Regions from separate parts of the Homo sapiens genome. Here region 2 is linked to region 1. Evidence: promoter capture Hi-C in 16 types of primary human blood cells and fetal thymus (Javierre and others, 2016). All regions are on one chromosome and are shown on one strand. The core of a region is centred on a gene start or on the middle of the fragment in contact, and the rest is flanking DNA. Distances in the headings are between cores, read along the strand shown.

Region 1 (7,183 bases), core at 1-2,500:
GGCCCCCGCCTCGTTCGCTACCCCAGATCCCAACAAGCTCCTGTCACCTCCTTCACCCTGAATGACCCGGGCATCCCACTTCCCTCACCAGCGAGGAGGCCCAGGCCGAGGTAGAGATGCAGCAGATCGCTGGCGAAAGCCGAGAAGACGAAGCCCAGCGAGGCGAGGACGCCCCCAACCATCACCACGGGGCGGGCCCCCCAGCGCGTGCTCAGGGCGCTGCCCACGGGGCCTGAAAGGGGGCGGAGTCAACGGAAGACACGCCCCCGGGCCCCCAAACTCTCTCCAACACTTCTCATTGGCTGTTTGCCTCCCTCGAACTAATGGTTCTTCTCCTTGACCTCAAGATGCACTCTTTTCTAGAGCCGGTTGCCCTTTCTCAGGTTGTCGGGTAATCAGGTGGGTCTCCCATCCCTCCACTCACGGCTCCTCCTCCCCGTTCCTGTCTCCCGCCTCAGGGCCCCCCTCACTGGCTGCCTGCTGCACGGCCAGGGCCAGGGCGCTGATCCACGCAGTGTCCTGGGCGCTTCGGTCAAAGTGCTCGGCAAGGTCAGGGAAGGCAAGGCCCAGCGAGCGCAGCAGCCCGTAGGACAGCCCGTTTATCGCGAAGGCTGCGGCCGCCACCACCCAGCCCCAGCCCCCATCCGGGGGTCCGGCGGGCTGGGGGGTCATCGCCGTCTGCGGGGTGGGGAAACATCTGTGAGAGAAGCCTCCACGCCTGTGCTTCCGCTGGGGAGCTGGCATCCCTGAGATCCAGCCTCTGGCTGCTCGCCCGGGGTGGGCCCGTCACTCCGAGCGCGATGGCGCGGGGCGGAGGGAGCCGGAGCCTGGCCTAGGGCTGGAACTCCCGGGTCCGCGCGAGGTACGGGGACGGGGACAGCCAGATCCCCAGGCCCGAGGTTCCCCGTCCCACGCACACTCCTTCCCCCTTACCCGACCTCTCCGGGCGGTGCGGGGAGGGGAAGGGTGAGGAAGGGCTGGGCCCGGCTTTCTCTCTGCTTCCCAGGCGGGCGGGGGCCCCGAAGGGGAGCGAGGGCAGCGATGGAGCCCAACTTGGACGGGCTCTCTCGGTAAACAGAGATCACCACAGGGGCCTGAGCCACCTGGGACGCGGGGTGTACGGAGGGCGGGGGCGAGCTGAAACAGCCAATCCGGCAAGCCGCGCGTGAGGCCAGACGCCAGTCCCACGGGGATTGAATTATGTACACACACAACCCCCAGGCCCGGGGGAGGGGGGAGCGGCGAGAAATGAATGCAGAGGGGCCCTGCCCTACTCACACGCATGCACCTGCCGCCTGCTGCGCGCAGGGGAGACACGTGGATTGCAAACCCCAGCGAGCCCAGGGTCCACCGCCAACGCGTGGAAATAGGGATGGTCCCCAAAACCTGAGGGGATGAGTAGTTTTGTTCTCAGGAACGTTGCCGAGGACCAGGTAAATCTCGGATATCAATCAGATCACAGACCTCCACCAAGTGCCAGCTCTGTGCTTAGAATAACAGACCCCCAGGCCGGGCGCGGTGCAAGCCTGTAATCCCAGCACTTTGGGAGGCCGATGTGGGTGAATCACCTGACGTCAGGAGTTCGAGGCCAGCCTGACCAACATGGCGAAACACCATATCTACTAAAAATACAAAAAAAATTAGCCGGGTGTGGTGGCGGGCGCCTGTAGTCCCAGCTACTTGGGAGGCTGAGGCGGGGAATCGCTTGAACCCGGGAGGCAGAAGTTGCAGTGAGCCAAGATCATGCCACTGCACTCCAGCCTGGGTGACAGAGAAAGACTCTGTCTCAAAAATAAATAAATAAACAAAAATAAAATAAATAAAATAAAATAACAGGTCCTCAAGGACAGAGGGATGAAACACGACTCCCTCAATGTGAAGACCTGCAGTGTACCAGGCACCGTTTACACATGCTATCACTTCATCTTATGATAACCCTATGAAGAAGGTGTCGCTTTTCTTTTTTTTTTTTTTTAGATGGAGTTTCACTCTGTAGCCCAGGCTGGAGTACAGTGGCGAGATCTCGGCTCATTGCAACCTCTGCCTCCTAAGTTCAAGCCATTCTCCTGCCTCAGCCTCCTGAGTAGCTGGGATTACGGGCGCCTGCCACCACTCCCAGCTAATTTTTGTATTTTTTAGTAGAGATGGGGTTTCGCCATGTTGGCCAGGCTGGTCTGGAACTCCTGACCTCAGATGATCCGCCCACCTCGGCCTCCCAAAGTGCTGGGATTACAGGAGTGAGCCAACGCGCCTGGCCGATGTCGTGCCTCTTTTATAGATGCAGTAACTGAAGCTCTCAGGGAAAAAATGGTATGGATATTTGAATTTAGGTCTGTCCAACTGTGGACCTACAAGGAGAACAATCCCAGGACTGAAACAAAATCTGGCACAGTTAAGGGAAAGATCCTGGATACAGCTTGAAGCAAACTGCCCTGGAAAGGGTGGAACCATTGCAGGGACAGAAAACTTATGAGTCTAAAATAAGGGGTCACTGGGAATAGAAAGGATTCTTGAGATCAGAATCTCTAAACACTTAGGTTAGAATTTTATTTTTTATTATGTATGTATGTATGTATGTATGTATGTATGTATGTATGTATGTGTGTGTGTATTTATTTATAGAGACAGGGTCTTGTCCAGGCTGAAGTGTAGTACTGCCATTATGGCTCACTGCAGCCTCCACCTCCCAGGCTCAAGCAATACTCCACCTCAGCCTCCCGAGTAGCGAGGACTACAGGCTCCACACCACCATGCCTGGCTAAATTTGTTCATTTTTTTTGTAGAGAGGGGGTCACAGCATGTTGCACAGGCTGGTCTCAAGCTCCTGGACTTAAGCAATCCTTCCACCTCGGACTCCCAAAGTGCTGGGATTACAGTCTACCATGCCTGGCCAGGTTACAATTTTAAAAGCAAAGTAAAAAATCAGGTCATTGAAGCCAGGTATTGATTTTTTGAAAAACTTTATAGAAAATGTCCTTTTTTGATAGGTTGACATTCTTTACCTCAGCTCTTTGAATTCAGAGATGTGTTCTTTGGTTTAATTATTAAACAATATGATAGAACATTCAGCAACTTAAGTTTGGAGCATGCATCCATTGAGCCACATGATGGCAGTGTTTCCTAATTATTGGGAAAGAATCTGCACGTAAAGACAAGAAAAACAGCTTCTTAAGGAGCAAAACTGTAAACATAAAAGACACAGCATGACTATAGGCAATGGCTCTCCATTGCCTATAGACGGGAAAAATTACATTTCTCTATTTGTACAGGTCTTTTACAATAATCAAAGGTAGACCTAGGTTACCGTTCCAAACCATCTCCCCTCTCTCCCTTTTGCCAGCCTCCCATCAGCCACTGTCTTCTCTGCTCTGTGGACATGCCTAGCTTTTTCTCACTCCTTAATTTTTGCATATGTCATGCTCTCTGCTTGAAACGTCCTGTTGTTCATGAAGGTCCTGACAGACACACCTTAGGAAAGTGGCCCCACCGGTTTCCCCAGCCTGGAGTGCTGTTATGAAAGCCACCAGGGAGGCGGAGCCAGCAGGTCCTCAGCTACCGGGGAGGGCAGGGATCCCGCTTCCTGAGAAGGCTGCTGAAGACTCTGCTCCAAGCTAAACGAATCACTGTCTCCCCATGGTGACGCAGAAATGCAGGACAGTCAGAGCGAAGACCGGGCCCTCCGCATCTGGGAGTTGTGCTAAGTGATGCTGCGCACCTTCGCAGGATGCTTACGAAGCCAGAAGGGTATCCCAGAGCCTGGGACTAGGGCTGTGAAAGAGCACATTCCTCTTCTACCTCAGGCTCCCTATATTCTTAGCAAAACTTGTCATCTTTTGCTCACGGAGGTAAAATAGCACAGAGATTAGGAGAATGGACTCCCAAGCTAGATTTCTTGAGGTTGAATGCCAGCTCTACTGTAGGGTCTAGCCCTACGGGGCTTGGCGGGTGTTTTCCCCGTGTGCGGAGATGAGAGATTGTAACAAATAAAGACACAAGCCAAAGAGATAGAAGAAAAGACGCTGGGCCCTGGGAACCACTACCATCAAGACGCGGAGACCGGTAGTGGCCCCGAACGGCTGGTTGCGCTGATATTTATTGCATACAAGACAAGGGGGCAGGGTAAGGAGGGTGAATCTTCTAAGTGATTGACAAGGTGCAGCAAGTCACGTGATCACAGGACGGGAGGGCCCTTCCCTTTTAGGTAGCCGAAGTAGAGACAGAAGGCAGCATACGTCAGCGTTTTCTTCTATGCACTGATAAGAAAGATCAAAGACTTTAGACTTTCACTATTTCATCTACCGCTCTGTACTACGAACTTCAAAGAGGAACCAGGAGTACGGGAGGAACATGAAAGTGGACAAGGAGCGTGAGCATTGAAGCACAGCCCCACAGGGAGGGGTTTAGGCCTCCGGATGACTGCGGGGAGGCCTGGATAATATCCAGCCTTCCACAAGAAGCTGCTGGAGCAGAGTGTTCCCTGACTCCTCCAAGGAAAGGACACTCCTTTTCGCGATCTGCTAAGTGATGGGTGTCTTCCCAGGCACTAGCGTTACCGCTTGACCAAGGAGCCCTCAAGCGGCCCTTATGCGAGCGTGACAGAAGGTTCACCTCTTGCCTTCTAGGTCACTTCTCACAATGTCCCTTCATCACCTGACCCTATACCTGCCGGTTATTCGTAGGTTATATTAGTAATGCAACAAAAAGTAATATTAAAAGCTAATGATTAATAATGTCTATAATAATGATTGATAATTGTCCATGATCATCTCTATATCTCATTTGTATTATGACTATTTTTATTCTATTTTCTTTATTACACTGAAACAGTTTGTGCCTTCAGTCTCTTGCCTCGGCATCTACGTAATCTTTCGCCCACACTCTACCACTTAGTAACTATATGATTATGAGCAAGTGTGACTCAACCTCTCTGTGCCTCGGTTTCCTCATCTCTACAATGGGGGTAATAACAGTAGCTACCTGATGGGTTGTTATAAGAATTAAATGAGTCACTGTGAATACACATATAAGTAAGGAACTTAGAACAGTGCCAAAGTATACGTGTTAGAGCTCATTGCCGCTATTTTCTTTCTTTTTTTTTTTTTTTCTTTTTTTTTTGAGACAGAGTCTTGCTCTATTGCCCAGGCTGGAGTGCAGTGGTACAATCTAGGTTCACCACAACCTCTGCCTCCCAGGTTCAAGTGAATTCTCCAGCCTCAGCCTCCCAGGTAGCTGAGATTACAGGTGCCCGCCACCACACTCAGCTAATTTTTTTGTATTTTTATTAGAGACGGGGTTTCACCATATTTGCCAGGCTGGTTTTGATCTCCTGACCTTAAGTAATCCACCTACCTCAGCCTCCCTTAGTGCTGGGATTACAGGTGTGAGCCACCGCGCTCAGCCTCCATTGCCGCTATTGCTGTGAGTTGAGGAACCTGGCTGGACCTAACAGCACGGCAGCCCTTTCCCACCTGGCTACCTCTGCCCATGCCTCAAGGTCAAGGCACCACATTGCCCTGGTAAGTTCTCAGTAGAGCCACATGGGTTAGAAAATGTGAATGGCTATAAAGAGATTCAATGGAAATTTCTGCTTTTCTTCTTTCTTTTCCCTTAGCATTTTCCAAAGTTTGTGTGAAAATGCTGGTCTCCCTGCCTTAACTCTAAAAACAAAAGAGAAGGCCGGGCGCAGTGGCTCACACCTGTAATCCCAACACTTTGGGACGCCAAGGCAGGTGGATTACCTGAGGTCGGGAGTTCAAGACCAGCCTGACCAACATGAAGAAACCCCGTCTCTACTAAAAATCCAAAATTAGCCAGGCGTAGTGGCAGGCGCCTGTAATCCCAGCTACTCGGGAGGCTGAGGCAGGAGAATTGCTTGAACCTGGGAGGCAGAGGTTGCCGTGAGCCGAGATCGCGCCATTGCACTCCAGCCTGGGCAACAAGAGCAAAACTCCATCTCAAAAATAAAAATAAATAAAAAATAATAGAGAAGAAAAAAGTCAAAATAAGTTTTATTCATTCAGTCCTTCATACAAAATATTTATAGACAGCTACCGCGTGCCAGCTGCTATGCTTAGGGTTCGGGATACAAATGTGAATAAGATATAGTCTCTCCCCTCCCAGCCCCACAATCAAATCAGAGGATCATCACATAAAGAAAAGAATTCTCAGCACAAGGACGGGGACACATACACCGTAGAGTGGTGCATGGGAAGAACTGACTCATTCCTCTTAGGACTGCTGGGAGGCTTCACAGAAGAGGAGCCCCTTGGGCTGGGTCTTGAAGGATGAGTAGGAGTTTGCCAGATGGATCTGTGGGCAGGGGCGTTCCAGGCAAAGGAAGCAGCTTGTGGAAAATCACAAAGGCATGAACCAGCTTGGCACATTGTTTATTGTTTGGGGAGCTATAAATAGCCGCTGTGTGGAGAACCGAGCATGTGTAGGAGGATAATGTAGGATTAAGCTGCTGGGCAGAGGGTCCCGTCTGAAAGGCCTTGAAGGCCAGGCTAAGGATATTCCTCCAGAGGCTGATACTACTCCAAAATGTCCAATGAAGTAGCACTCACTAATACTCACTAATAATGGAAGCTGAATACAGAGGAGAGATGAGTCATGCCACAATCAGAGGCGCAAGGAGAGTTCGCCTTTTGCATGTGGGAAATTTCTTTGAAATATCTTGTTTTATGTTAAAAATTCATGCAGAATTTTTCATTCTACTTTTTTTGTTTGTTTGTTTGTTTTTGTTTTGTTTTGTTTTGTTTTTGAGACCGAGTCTCTCTCTGTTGCCCAGGCTGGAGTGCAGTGGCACAATCTCGGCTCACTGCAAGCTCGGCCTCCCGGGTTCAGGCCATTCTCCTGCCTCAGCCTCCCGAGTAGCTGGGACTACAGGCACCCACCACCACGCCCGGCTAATTTTTTGTATTTTTAGTAGAGACGGGGTTTCACTGTGTTAGCCAGGATGGTCTCGATCTCCTAACCTCGTGATCTGCCCGCCTCGGCCTCCCAAAGTGCTGGGATTACAGGCGTGAGCCACTGTGCCCAGCCCGATTTCTGGAATTCTCACACACAAAGATGCCAAAGGTGAGTGATGAATCACTGAATGAGAGAAACATTGAACAAAGGAGTCATTGAATGAGTGGACTCCGTGCCTGGTGCTCCACAGAATGCAGCAGTGGTACAGGAAAGA
Region 2 (7,183 bases), core at 2,392-4,891, 450 kb after region 1:
TGCCCCTTTCCCAGTCTTGCATGGTTCATTAAATAGTTTCTCCATTCATCCATTTGCTCAGGCCAAAAATCTAAAAGCCATCTTTGATTCTCTTTCTCACAATCTCCACTTAGTCCATCTGCCAGAGTGTCAGTCCTACCTTTCAAAATATGCCTGGAATCCAGCCATTTATGACCATCTCCACCACCATGTCCCACCATATCCCACCCTACTGTCATCTTTCCTGTGGGGTGCTATAGAGCCCTAATTGGTCTTCCTACAGTTTGTAAGAACAGCTAGAACAGGCTAGAGAGATCTCTTCATCCCTTCCCTTCATAGAATCCTTTCCAGAGGTTTCAGGACTCCTTACTCTGACCTATAAAGTGCTGTTTTATCTGGCTCCTGCTTGCTTCTCCATCTCATTACTAGTCTCCTCTTTGCTTTTCTTGAACCACGCTGACTGCTTGCTCCTCTAACACTGCAAGCTTATTCCCACCTCAAGGACTTTATTATTCACTATTCCTCCTGCTTGGAACAACGTTGCTCAGACCTCTGCTCTGCATGCCTGTTCCTTTATGTCTGTATGTTCTGTGTTGAAATGGCATATCTTTTTTTTTTTTTGGACACGGGGTATCCCTCTGTCCCCCAGGCTGGAGTGCAGTGGCTCGATCCCAGCTCACTGCAGCCTCTTGGGCTCAAAAGATGCTCCCTGGCCAGGCTCAATCACGTCTGTAATCCCAGCACTTTGGGAGGCCAAGGTGGGCAGATAACGAGGTCAGGAGTTTGAGACCAGCCTGGCCAAAATAGTGAAACTCTGTCTTTACTAAAAATACAAAAATTAGCTAGGTGTGGTGGCACGCCTCTGTAGTCCCAGCTACTAGGGAAGCTGAGGTAGGAGAATCAGTTTAACCTGGGAGGTCGAGGTTGCATTGAGCTGATACTGTGCCATTGCACTCCAGCCTGCGTGACGGAGTGAGACTGTCTCAAAAAAAAAAAAAAAAAGGCCAGGCGCGGTGGCTCACACCTGTAGTCCCAGCACTTTGGGAGGCTGAGGCGGGCGGATCACGAGGTCAGGAGATCGAGACCGTCCTGGCTAACACGGTGAAACCCCGTCTCCCCTAAAAATACAAAAAATTAGCAGGGCGTGGTGGCAGGTGCCTGTAGTCCCAGCTACCTGGGAGGCTGAGGCCGGAGAATGGCGTGAACCCGGGAGGTGGAGCTTGCAGTGAGCCGAGATTGCGCTCCTGCATTCCAGCCTGGGCAACAGAGCGAGACTCCGTCTCAAAAAAAAAAAAAAAATGCTCCCACCTCAGACAGACCCCCAACCCCCACCTCAGTAGCTGGGACAACAGGCTCATACCACCATGCCTAATTTTTAAATTTGTTGTAGAGATGGGTTCTCACTATGTTACCTAGGCTGGTGAACTGGGCTCAAGCGATCCCCCTCCTCTGCCTCCCAAAGTGCTGGGATTCCAGGCATGAGCCACTGCGCCTGGCCGATGTCATATCTTTAGGAGCGCTTCCCTGACCACTCTGTTTAAATAGCATCCCCCGCCCTTCCCTTGTTTTCTCTGATCATTCTCTGCTATATTTTCCTTCACAGCCTGTCACTCCAGAAAGGATTAGTTTTTCTGTTTCTTGCTTCCTTGCTAGAGAATGAATTTCATGAGGGACTTTGTCTGTGTTATTCATGTTCCCTTAGTATCTCAGGTAGTGCCTGGCACATGATAGACATGTAATAAAAATTAGTTGAATAAACAAGTGAATGAAATAATTGGGCAAATATGCATAGATAATGTAGAAGGACTTTTATTGCAACATTGTTTGAAAGTGACAATTATAAATTACTCGGTATTTACTAATAGGAATCCTGTTGAATAACTTAGGGTGTATTCTTACAATGTAATAGAGGAACTTCCCAATAAGGTCCCACACTGTGCTGATGCCCTGAGACACTGTGGCACACGGTGGGCACAGTGAGGTATTTTAAATTTCCAAGAGAAACACAGGTACATTTGTCAGATACCCTGGAACTCCTAGTTCCTGGTAGTTCTGTTTCAACATTAGATGGTGCCAAATCCCTTTCTATAATGTCATATTTTTGTGAAACTGGGTTTTTAGCAGTTGCTAAGTACAGGCAAAAATCAGTTTGTAGAAGAAATAAAGGTGGTGCTGTTTAGTCTGATTCCAAGGTTTGAGAGGTGCAGTGCCTAACAGGCGCCATAAGTGAGTGAGATGGTTATTTGGTAAAGAAATAAAAATGTTATTTTGTTTTAATATATTAATAGTATTTTCAACTTGTGTGTATTTTCTCAAATGGCTAGTAAGTTCCTAGGACATAAATGCTTAAGTTGTTTGGGTCTAGGTGCTTAATAAATTGCTGTCTTTTCTTGGAAAGATGGAGTCTTGCTCTGTTGCCTAGGCTGGAATGCAGAGGTGAGATCTCAGCTCACTGTAACCTCTGCCTCCTGGGTTCAAGCTACTCTCCTCCCTCAGCCTCTCAAGCAGCTGGGATCACAGGCATCCGCCACCATGCCCGGCAATTTTTGTATTTTTGGTAGAGACAGGGTTTCACCACATTGGCCAGACCGGTCTCAAACTTCTGACCTCAAGTGATCTGCCCACCTTGGCCTCCCCAAGTGCTGGGATTGCAGGTGTGAGCCACCGCGCTCGGCTGTGGCTCTCTTTTGACCTAGTAAGTGCTGTGAGAGTTACTGAAATGGTAAGGGCACTGTGGGCTGTTGATAATGTTAGGGAATCTATGGATAAATGAAAAAGTTACTCAGAAGTATGCAGAGTGAAGGCCTTATGTTAAAGTGGGAACGTATTTACGGTTTTTTTAAAGCATGAAAAAAAATGCATGCCGTGGCTCATGCCTGTAATCCCAGCACTTTCGGAGCCTGAGGCAGGAGGATCATTTGAGGCCAGGAGTTCAGGACCAGCCTGGGCAACACAGCAAGACCCTATCTCAATTTAAAAATAATAATAACAAATGGGCTGAGCACGGTGGCTCACTCCTGTAATCCCAGCACTTCGGGAGGCCAAGGTGGGCAAATCCCCGAGGGTCAAGAGTTCAAGACCATCCTGTCCAGCCTAGTGAAACCCCGTCTGTACTAAAAATATAAAAAGCAGCTGGGTGTAGTCGTGGGTGCCTGTAATCCCAGCTACTTGGGAGGCTGAGGCATATGAACCACTTGAACCTGGTAGGCGGAGGTTGTACTGACCCAAGATGGAATAATAACAAATAAAAGTATGGGACACTGTTGACAAAGCTCTACCAGAGTCATCTCTGGGGTGTAGGATTGTTGGGCTTCGATAGTGCTCTGCATGTCTTGCAGTTTATACGATGTCTGTATTTTGAGGGACCAACAGACGGTTCAATTTTGGGTAGAAGGATGGGTGAGGGTGAGTAAGGTGCCTCTTGTTGTGAAACAGGTGGTATTTTAGGCTAAAATGTTTTACAGAAGTCTTAGGGGTCAGAGTGTATGGAGGTACGGAGGGGTCTTTGAATTGGCTTTGAGATAGAGCTGTTGTCCTTGCTGTTAGAAGATGGATTTAGATGTTGCTAGGTGAGGGGAAGGTTACAAGGCGGGTTGGTACTAGAGCTTTGTACCAGCGTGTGCACAAAATTTTGGGGAAAGAGGGTGCTGGATTTCCTTCGCAGTAGTTGACCCCTATTCATTAAAAACAACTGTCTATCATGGAATGCATAACTTATTTATACCCTGACTTATTTAAATAAGGATTTAAAGCAGTAATCTGTTCTTTTTTTTTTTGATACGGACTCCAGCTCTGTTGCCCAGGCTGGAGTATAGTGGCACAGTCTGTGCTCACTGCAACCTCTGCCTCCTGGATTCAAGCGATTCTTCTGCCTCAGCCTCCCGAGTAGCAGGAACTACAGGAGCACGCCACCACACCCAGCTAATTTCTTTTTTGTATTTTTAGTAGAGACGGGATTTTACTGTGTTGTCCAGACTGGTCTCGAACTCCTGACCTTGTGATCCACCCACCTTGGCCTCGCAAAGTGCTGGGATTACAGGCATGAGCCACCGCACCTGGCCTAGTTTTTGTATTTTTATTAGAGACAGGGTTTTACCATGTTGGCCAGGCTGGTCTCGAACTCCTGACCTCAGGTGATCTGCCTGCATTGGCGTCCCAAAGTGCTGGGATTACAGGCTTGAGCCACTGCGCCTGGTCAATAATGTATTCTTTTAGGTAGAGTGTGGGCTACATTGATGAGTGAGAAGATGATCCTTGTTTTCAAGTTACCTATAATCTTGTGAGGGATTTCCTATGTATGCAGCAAATAGTTACTGAGCCTCAACCATATGTTGGTTACTGTGCTAGGTGCTGAGGATATGAAGAGAAAACATGACCCTTGCCCTCAAGGATTACAGTCCAATGAGAGAGACAGATGTGTCACCAAGTAATTAAAATTGGGCTGAGAACCTTGCTGGGGTGTGCATAAGACTAGGAAGAGTTAGAGAAGACTTCATAAGGAGGTGACCTCTGAACTGGGTCTTAAAGAATAAATAGAAGTTTACTCCCAAGGGGGTGTGTGAAGCAAAAGGAGATTTGAGAAATCTATTGTATTTAGAACATAAATGTGGGAGGCGGGTAGGAGAATGTGGTACCAAATAAAGCTGTAAAAGCAACTTGAAGCCAAATTGTAATAAGGACCTTGTTAGCTTTGCTAAAGCAGAGGAAAGAGGACGAGTATTTACTGAGATTCAATGACAGCCCTTTTGTTATTGTGGCCTCAGGGGCAGAACCCAAAGAGAACCCAGCCTGACTGGCCACCCCCTCAAGTGTTTAACCTTTATCCTGTAGGCAGTGAGAACCATTGTTGGCCGAAGGGTTGGGGGCTAATTTAAAATGACAGTTTGAGGCCTGGTGCGGTGGCTCACGACTGTAATCCCAACACTTTGGGAGGCTAAGGTGAGTGGATCACTTGAGGCCAGGAGTTTGAGACCATCCTGGCCAACATGGTGAAACCCTGTCTCTACTAAAAATACAAAAATTAGCCAAGTGTGGTGAGCACCTGTAATTCCAGCTACTTGGGAGGCTGAGGCACAAGAATCACTTGAACCTGAGAGGCAGAGGTGGCAGTGAGCCGAGATTGTACCACTGCACTCCAGCCGGGGTGACAGCAAGACCCTGTCTCAAAAAAAAAAAGTAAAATAAAATAAAAAATGAGAGTTCGTGAACTTGGTGATGGAGGGATAGCTCTTCTCATTAACAAGGATATGCGTGTCTGCTGTCTAGGACACCCCCTGACCCGGTCTCAGAAAGCCTGAAAGCAGAATTAGTCATTAGAAGGGTGGTTGGCTTGGTCGGCATAGACTTTGAGCAGAAAGAGGTTGAAAATGTTGAGCCTGATTTCTCTTAGGCCCCTCTGCAGTGTCTGTTGTGGAGGCCAGATACGTAACTGCTTCCGCTTTTTTTGGTCTCATTCAAGGTGAGCAAATCCCCTTCATGTTTCTCACCAGACAATGCAGCTGATGAGGTTCCAGCTTTGCAAATGTAGTCATCCATGAGGACTGTCTTCCTGAGATTTCATCAGGTCATGTTGATGAGAGTTTTGAACCTGTCTGAGGCTGAGAGGTGTGCAGAACTTCTTCAGCTTTGCATCTGTAGACCATTTTGGTTTCTACCCAGCAGTGGCCAATCAGACCTATTATGAGGGGATTACTGGTTTGACTGTCAGAGGGTAACCTCTCTTTTTCCAAGTTTTTTGAGGGTACCTCCCTCCAGTGGAGAGTCCTAAGCAGTAGGTCAATTTAACAGACATTTGTTAGGAGCCCACCATGTTTCAGGCAGGCACATGGGATTCAGGATGGTTGAGGCATTCTGCCTGCCTGAGAGGTGCTTATAGTTATAGGGAAGACAGACCCCCATAGGTCATTTTATTGCATTGTTGTATGTGCAGTGATAGAGGGCTGTGGAAGCACAGAGGAGGGGTGCCTGTCTACTTTGGGCAGGCTGTGGAAAGGCTTCCTGGAGGAAGCAGTGCCTGAGCCGAGTCTTGAAATAGGAGTTTTGCAGTGGGAAGAGCATTCCAAGCAGAGAGGCACTAGCATATAGAAAACCCCGGAGGAACGCAGCACGTGTTGCGCTGGATGTGATAGGCGACTCCAGGGAATTGTTACTGAGGAGTGAACAGGAAGGTGTGGAGCATCAGGGAAATGAAGGTTGAGAACATCATAAAATCCTTTTGGGAAGCTGTCCTGCTGAGTTTGGATGTCAGTCTGAGGACAAGAGGGTATGAATGATTACATTTTTAGTTTATTATTAATTTTTATTTTATTTATTTTTAGCACACATTTTTATTTTAGAATGAGCACCCCAGTTGTAATGTAGAAGGATTGGAGAGAGACAGGCTGGTGACCCATAGGAACGCTCTGTTGTAGACTACAAAGGAAGGGCCTGAACTAGGGCAATGGTGGTGGGGATGGAGAAGAGAGGCAAGATTCAAGAAACACTTAGGAGGCCAGGCGTGGTGGCTTATGTGTGTAAACCCAGCTGAGATTCCCGCCACTGCACTCCAGCCTGGGTGACAGAGCAAGACTTCTTAAAAAAAAAAGGGAGGTAAAAGTGACCAGTACCTGGTGAATGACTGAATAATAATAATGTCCATTCATAAAGCGCCAATTACATCCTGGACTTAAGCAAGCTAATTAAGTCCTTAATGGTTACATAGTTCATAAGTAATATAGGCAGAATTCCAAAGCAAGGGTGCCCGACAGCTAAGTCCATGTTCTTTGGACTGTTTTGTGCTTGAAGGTAAGGAAAGGTAAGCATAGGTTTCTGAATCTGGGATAGAGACTAAAGGAAAAAGAGAAGCTTTTGTGGAAAAGAGAGTTTGCTTTTAAACATGTTTAATTTGATTTTTTGGTGTGATGTTTGCAGGGGGTTCAGTAGGTAGTCACATACGTGAACCCAAAGTCCAGAAGAAAAGTAAGGCCTGGAATTAGAGAGTTGAGAATGAGTATCCAAGCATACCTTGGAGATACTGTGAGTTTGGTTCCAGCCCACCGCAATAAAGCAAGTCACATGGAGTTTTTTGGTTGCCATTGTGCATGTTACATTAGTACTATGCTGTAGTCTACTAAGTCTAAGTGTACAATAGCATTACAATTTTTTTTTTTTTTTGAGACGGAGTCTTGCTCTGTCATTCAGGCTGAAGTGCAGTGGTGCGATCTCA

The links. Contacts are between HindIII fragments. The CHiCAGO score rates a contact against its expected background, and 5 or more counts as called.
Region 2: a fragment that was not itself captured here is called in contact with the fragment with the promoter of SLC16A11 in region 1 in 1 of 17 cell types (monocytes); the score reaches 5.3 in monocytes.

Annotation. Positions count from the first base shown.
Region 1 is chr17:7,042,842-7,050,024 of GRCh38, forward strand. SLC16A11 (solute carrier family 16 member 11) reads right to left here and starts at 1,251. Exons shown (of 5, transcript NM_001370549.1): 1 at 934-1,251; 2 at 471-678; 3 at 89-232. The coding sequence starts at 672. It overlaps LOC124903909 (a long non-coding RNA gene), which reads left to right and starts at 226. Exons shown (of 2, transcript XR_007065598.1): 1 at 226-399; 2 at 3,341-4,739. RefSeq lists silencers at 598-657, 728-857 and enhancers at 3,940-4,009, 4,070-4,139, 4,210-4,259. The HindIII fragment of the contact is 13,319 bases long and covers 1-7,183 here.
Region 2 is chr17:7,487,423-7,494,605 of GRCh38, forward strand. All of the region lies in intron 1 of POLR2A (RNA polymerase II subunit A), which reads left to right. Among named protein-coding and RNA genes, the nearest start is that of POLR2A, 6.6 kb to the left of the region's middle. The HindIII fragment of the contact is 6,358 bases long and covers 463-6,820 here.